2 separate regions of the Homo sapiens genome follow, and region 2 is linked to region 1. Evidence: promoter capture Hi-C in human tissues and cell types (Jung and others, 2019). All regions are on one chromosome and are shown on one strand. The core of a region is centred on a gene start or on the middle of the fragment in contact, and the rest is flanking DNA. Distances in the headings are between cores, read along the strand shown. Region 1 holds the start of SOWAHA (sosondowah ankyrin repeat domain family member A). Region 2 overlaps SEPTIN8 (septin 8).

The links. The method cuts DNA at HindIII sites, captures the fragments that hold promoters and counts their contacts. A contact is called where the count stands out against the background at its distance.
Region 2: a contact is called between a fragment that was not itself captured here and the fragment with the promoter of SOWAHA in region 1, in 2 of the 25 tissues and cell types used here (dorsolateral prefrontal cortex and hippocampus).

Annotation. Positions count from the first base shown.
Region 1 is chr5:132,811,432-132,814,591 of GRCh38, reverse strand. It overlaps SOWAHA (sosondowah ankyrin repeat domain family member A), which reads right to left and starts at 1,290. Exons shown (of 1, transcript NM_175873.6): 1 at 1-1,290. The coding sequence starts at 970. RefSeq lists an enhancer at 1-146 and a silencer at 186-255. The HindIII fragment of the contact is 8,247 bases long and covers 1-3,160 here.
Region 2 is chr5:132,768,997-132,772,260 of GRCh38, reverse strand. The region is part of intron 1 of SEPTIN8 (septin 8); the gene reads left to right. Among named protein-coding and RNA genes, the nearest start is that of SEPTIN8, 6.6 kb to the left of the region's middle. The HindIII fragment of the contact is 3,532 bases long and covers 1-3,031 here.

The sequences.
Region 1 (3,160 bases), core at 41-2,540:
TCCAGCGGCCCCCGGCAGTCCGCACGAGCCACTCGTGCTCGGACGGCTCCAGGGGCACCGCGGACGGCGGCGGCGCGGCGGGCAACTCCTCGGCGTCAGGGCTCAGCAGACGCGGGCCGGCGCGCGACAGGCGCCTCAGGTGCGGGGAGCGGCCCGGGCCCAGGCCGAGGCCCAGACCGGACTCTTCCACCGAGAGCCGCCTCAGCAGCAGAGGGGAGCTCCGCGGGCTCGGCTCCTCCGACAGCTGCCGGCGCAGGCCGGGCTCCTCCGCCCGGAGGCGGAGCGTGGCGGGGGCCGGGACGCAGCGCACCGGCAGCATACAGGGCTTCTGCTGCGGCGGCCCTTTCGCTGCCCCGGGCCCGGGCTCCGCGTCTGGCGGATCAGAGCAGGGCGATGCCGCCTCAGAAGGGGCCCTAGGCGGTGGGGCCGCGTCTGCGGAGGGTCTCTCGGTGGCCTGGGCTAGCTCAAGGGCTGGAAGCGGTGGGTCGGCGGACCGCTCCCCGGGCGGCTGAGCGGGCTCGGAGGCCGGCCCCCCCGGGGTGTCCTGTGGCTCTGTTGGCAGACCCAGGTCCCCTGGCGGCTCCACTGGCCGCGGCACCCGGACCAAGGGCGGAGCTCCCGGGGCAGAGGCGCTCCGCGGCAAGACCGTCGAAGTGGGTTTCGACGGCTGGGCCGCTGCCCCCGGGGGGCCGAAGGGTGCGGGCTCGGGCTCCGGGGGCCGGGGCTTCTTCCTCAGCACCACGAACTTGACGCCGTCGAGCTCCTTCACCACCGCCACGTTGTTGACGAACTGCTTGAAGCGGTCCCTGCGGGCGGCGCGGCCCCGCGGGTCGCCGGCATCGAGCAGCGGCTTGAAGCGGCTCAGCAGCTCGGAGTTGCGCACCTTCCCGCCGTGCTCCTGCAGGAAGCCCAGCACCGCCGCCTGGCTCACCCCGGCAGCCGCAGCGGCGGCGGCGGCGGCCAGCGCCATGGTGGGGCCCTGGGTTCCTGGCTCCCGGGGCGGGTGGGCGCCGCGTCGCCGCGGGACGCGCGGGAGCGGGGTTCCGGGAGGCGCGGCCGCGCTCACCTGGTGCCTTCCCCGCGGCCAGCCGGGCGTGTCCCCGAAGCTGGACCTCGGTCGCGCCAGTGCCGCTGGGCCGGGGCGTCTCGGGGCGAAGGGCGCCGGGGGCCGCGGGGAGCGCCCACCCCCAGCGCCCCGCCGGGCCCCGGCCTTCGGGGTAGGTTTCTGCCTTTGTATTCTGTCCAATGGGCGCCTGCTTCCATCCCCCGCGCCGCGCTCGCCTTACAGGTGACAGCTGCCCCCGCGATGCAGAGGGAACCGGAGCAGAAATTCCCGCCGCCCCCCGCCCGCCCCAGAATTAAAGGCGCAGCGCTCCAGCTCTGGTCTCGGTTGCTAGGTGGGTGTGTTCCCTAGGGACGCCGCGGTCCGCCAAGGAGGAATGGATTTTTATTCCTTTAATAAACATTTAACCACTGCAAAACACCAAGCGATGATTTCAGAACAATCTTTTTTTTTTAAAGGTCGTCAATACCACTCCAGTTTTTTTTTTTTTTTACTGTGTTTCATGCAGGAAAACGGCTTCATGAGATTTACAGCAAAACCAATTCACTCTGCGCGGCAATGCACGTTACTCTAGGTTTAGAGAGACGTTTTCAAAAGCAATTTTCTCATGGTAAGAGAATACATTTTCACGTAGAATTTGGGGTATAAAACCACAGGAAACATAAACATAACAGGAAAACATAGAGGAAAACATAAAGAAGGAAAAAAAATCACTTGAAATCACCATTAACATTTTGAAATATCCTCTCCCTGTCTCCCATGTGTGTATGTATGTTTATGCTTTAAAGTAAGAAAGCAATGCGGAGTCATGCCATGGTTTTAAACCTTCGTTTGTTCCACAGATAGGTATTGAGCACGTAGTTTGTGCCAGGACTTTTTTTTTTTTTTTTTTGGCTAAGATGCGTCAGTTAGCAAGACAGATTTAAAAACCCGTGACCTAGTGGGGCTCATGTGTTGGAGGAGAACAGAAGCATATGGTGAATCCGAAAACTATATGATATACTAAATACATGCTATGAAAAAAGCACAGCGGGGTATAACGGATGAGGGTCAGGTTGCAATTTTGATCTGGGCAGTCAGGATAGTACTCGTTGTGAAAGTGACATTTAAACAAGGACTTGAAGGAGATCAGGGAGTTATGTAGACGGGGAAGAGGTTTCTAGTTGAGGGAACTGCCTGGCAGAGGTAGAATCAGTTCCTTAATTTAAAATGCAGGCCGGGCGCGATGGCTCACGCCTCTAATCCCAGCACTTTGGGAGGCTGACTTGGGCGGATGATCTGAGGTCAGGAGTTCGAGACCAGCCTGGCCATCATGGTGAAATCCATCTCTACTTAAAAATACAAAAATTAGCTGGGTGTGATGGCACGCACCTGTAATCCCAGCTACTCCGGAGGCTGAGGCAGGTGAATCGCTTGAACCCGGGAGGTGGAGGTTGCAGTGAGCTGAGATGGCGCCACTGCACTCCAGCCTGGATGACAAGAGCAAGCCCTGTCTCATAAATAAATAAATAATTGCAGTACTACAAATATATCTAACCAGAAGCAGCATATTGTAGTAGCTGAGAAAACAAGACTCTGGAGTCAACATTCTACACTTGAGTTCTGGCTCTACCTTGGGCAAATGCCTTGACTTCTCTGTGCCTCAGCTTTCTTGTCTGTAAAGGAATGAGGAAAATAGTACTTACCTGCTCAGATGGTTGAGAGAATTAAGTGAGAAAATAAACACAAAAGACTTAGCATAATGCTTGGCTTACAGTAATCATTTGAATTATTATTAGTAGTATAGTCACTACTATTAGTATTACTCAAAAGGAAAACAGAAGACTAAAATGTAAAGGGTCCCCTTTCCCCAATCCAATCCCCAGGGGCAATTTCTGAGTTCAGCCCTGTCCCCAAGATGCAAACAATTTAAACATTTCCCCCTCACTTTATATTGTGAGCATTCCTCCCAATGACAATAGCTAGTCTAGTCTTCAAAAACATACAACTTTTAATGATAGCATCAAATAAATGTAGTATTATACTTTGTTTTCTTGTTCTTCATTGTTTATATTGTTTCTAGTTTTTAATTCTTATAAATGATGCTGTTGATATATA
Region 2 (3,264 bases), core at 16-2,515, 42 kb after region 1:
ACACACTATCCCAAATTAATAAGCTCCAGCCTGGCTGGCTGTGTGCAGAAAGGAAAGACAGTGCCTCTTAGTGAGACAGAGAAACAGAGAGAATGGAGTATTGGGGTCAGGGGATGGTTTTGCTCCCAAAATTCCTTCTCTTCCCAGGATGGGTGGAGTAGGACTGGCCTTGTGAGGATGATTGGCTTCCTGTTACCTTGACTGCCGTCATGTTGGGACCATGGCGGGTGATCCTTGCTTGAATCTTCTCTCAAGTTTTCTGTTGCCACTGTAGGAGAAAGATGCTTTGGCTCCCAGGTGTCCTCTTGATTTGGGACAGGTATATCCTGCCTCTATTCTTCCTTCCTGGCCCCGGGTAGCAGCATCCCACCCCCACCCTCCCACGTATGTCTCCTTGGTTATTTCCCGTAACCTCTGACCTGGGCTTAGAGGCTTGCTGTGGAATCCTGGGACCAGAGCCGAAGCCTTTCCTGGGAAAATTCCTAGGATTCCTCTCAGGCTCAAGGACAGTTGTGCTTATGACCGCGACCACGGGTTCTGGCTAGAGGCCTCTGCTCTGGCTATTTAAGGCCCAGGCTCCTGGGAGGAGCTGGAGCCGGGGCTAGCATAGTTTGTGCCAGGAACATGGGTGGAGAAAGCTTCCAGTGGTCCATTGACTCCTGAGTCCATTGCTCAGTTACTTAATAGGGCCACCCCCAGGGCTGGAGCTCCCCTGGGGAGTGGGCTTCCTGTCTGCCTGACTGGGTGTACAGGTGAGTGGGTGCTAGGCATGGGAGCCCAGAGGAAGAAAAGCATCCAAAGTCCAAGGCACTGGAGAACTCTGGAAGGCCTGAGGTCTGGGGGCTGCTCTTTGTCCATTACTCGGTAGCCAATCCACCTATGGTGGGGTATCCTTTCTACTCCCACTGCAACAACCAGCCTAGTTTGGGGGTTTGGATCACAGGGGTCTTTATTTACCCACAGCTTCCCCGGCTCTGTTGGTTTAGAGATTCAGTAGATTTCCAGTTCCTTCTGGATAAAAACCTGTTTTTGTGTGTTGGCAACCATGAGATGCAGTTTCTTCCCAGATCCCACCTTGTTTCATGGTAAAAGGGACAGCTCCTCTTGGCTGGTGATGAGGGCTGCTCTAGGAGGCTCAGACAGAGCATTTCCTATCAGGAAAAGGGCGTCCTAGTTATCCACTGGGCTGCGTAACAAAATGCTGTTCTCTACTTTGTCTTGGACGGCCGGGCATGGAGGCACGCAGCCGGCCTGAGAAGTTATTGTTTTGGTTGTTGTCTTTGATGTGCCAAAGAAATGATGACACAGAAGCCTGGGGCCTGGCTCAGGAGCCAAAAGCTTGTTAGTGATTAGAGAGGGGATAATGGCCCCATGGAGTTTCTCATTGCATATGTAGAGCTCAGAGCTGCCAACTCCCTCTATCCTGGGACTTTGAAGACATATACAACGCTCACCCCTGTGTGAGCACCTCAGGGAGCTGGGTGTGTGGAATGAGCCAGAGGCTTTGGGTCCACCTCTCTCTGGGGTCCAAGTTAAGTTGTCCTGCCTGAAGGCTCCTCCCCACAGAGCAGTCTGCCATGGGGCTTCCTGACTTGAGAATGGAGCCTGGCTGCAGGGTCCGTCCAGCTCACCCTCCCACCAGAGCCAGCTTACAGACCAGCAGGCCTTTGGCCCACACCAGCCCCCTGACATGTTGTATTGGGCCCTCATGGTATTCTCAGTTTGTATTGGTTGTCAATCTTTAAAAATTACAGAATTTCACATAAAAATATAGATTTCTGGGCCAGGCATGGTGGCTCACACCTGTAATCCCAGCACTTTGGGAGGCCAACGCAGGTGGATCACCTGAGGTCAGGAGTTCAAGACCGACCTGGCCAACATAGTGAAACCCCGTCTCTACTAAAAATACAAAAATCAGCCAGGCGTGGTGGTTGCGTGCCTGTAATCCCAGCTACTGGGGAGTCTGAGGCATGAGAATTGCTTGTACCTAGGAGGCGGAGGTTACAGTGAGCTGAGATCACACCACTCCAGCCTGGGTGACAGAGCCAGACTGTGTCTCAAAAAATACATACATACATATATATACATATATACATATATATATATATATATATACACACACATACACATATATACATATATATATATATACATATATACATATATATATACATATATACATATATATATATATATACACACACACACACACACACACATATATATATATGTGTGTGTATATATATATATATATATATATATATATATATATATATATGTATATATAGAGAGAGATTTTTGGGTTCTCTTTAAAAACGGGAAGATTTGGCAACACTAGATCTGTGTTCCCACAGTTGGCTGGCGTTGTGGAACTGTGGCCACCATGGATTGAGCATAAGCACAGGCTCTCCAGTTCTCTGCCATTCCCACCTCTCCCCGGGAACCCCCACGCTTGGCCAAGTTAGTGGCTGTCTTTCATCCAGCAGGCGGGGAGTGATGTGACTAGAAGTGTGGGTTTCACAGTCATGTTGTCTCCATTCAGATCCTGGCTTTGCTCTCCTGAGCAGTGTGGTCTTGGGCAAATTACACACTCTCTTGATGCCTCTATTGTCTCATCTAGACAATGGGGAGGCTGCTACGGCCTATGTCATAGGGCTGATGTGTGGACTAAATTAGATTAAATTAGGGTTGCGCAAAGCAAGCATGCAATACATGTTAGTTATGTCTGTTGTTGTTGCCATTGTTATTAAGGTGCTGCTCCCCTTCACCTATATATGTTACCTGCCTGGCTTCTAAAGGCATTTGAGTTTAGGCTTAGCCCTCTGAGGTCAAGGATCTGATGTCCTCATCTTTTCACTGGCAGCCATCTCAGTTCCTGGCACACAGCAGACATGTCCAGTGCGTGTGTGTTGAGTGACTGAATGAATGAGTTGGAAGCCTGCTAAGAACAGGGGAGGCAATGTAGCAGAGTGGTTTGGGACAAGAGCTTGGTCTGTTCTCAGGTCCCTGCTCTGCCCTGGTTAGTTCCCTAGCTTCTGTGTGCTTCAGTTTCCTCCCCTGTAAAATGGGGATAATCATGGAGTCTGTCATCCACAGTGAGGAAGGACCAAGTGAGAGCCTGGGTGTAAATCACTTGGCTTAGTTCACACATGGTGGTCCTCAGTGAGGTGTTGGTATCATCCCAGACGTCCCTTCCTTCCTTTGGTTGTGAATACTGAGATGTTTTACCTTCCACACTGTCCCTCCTTTCCTGGCTCTCCTCGC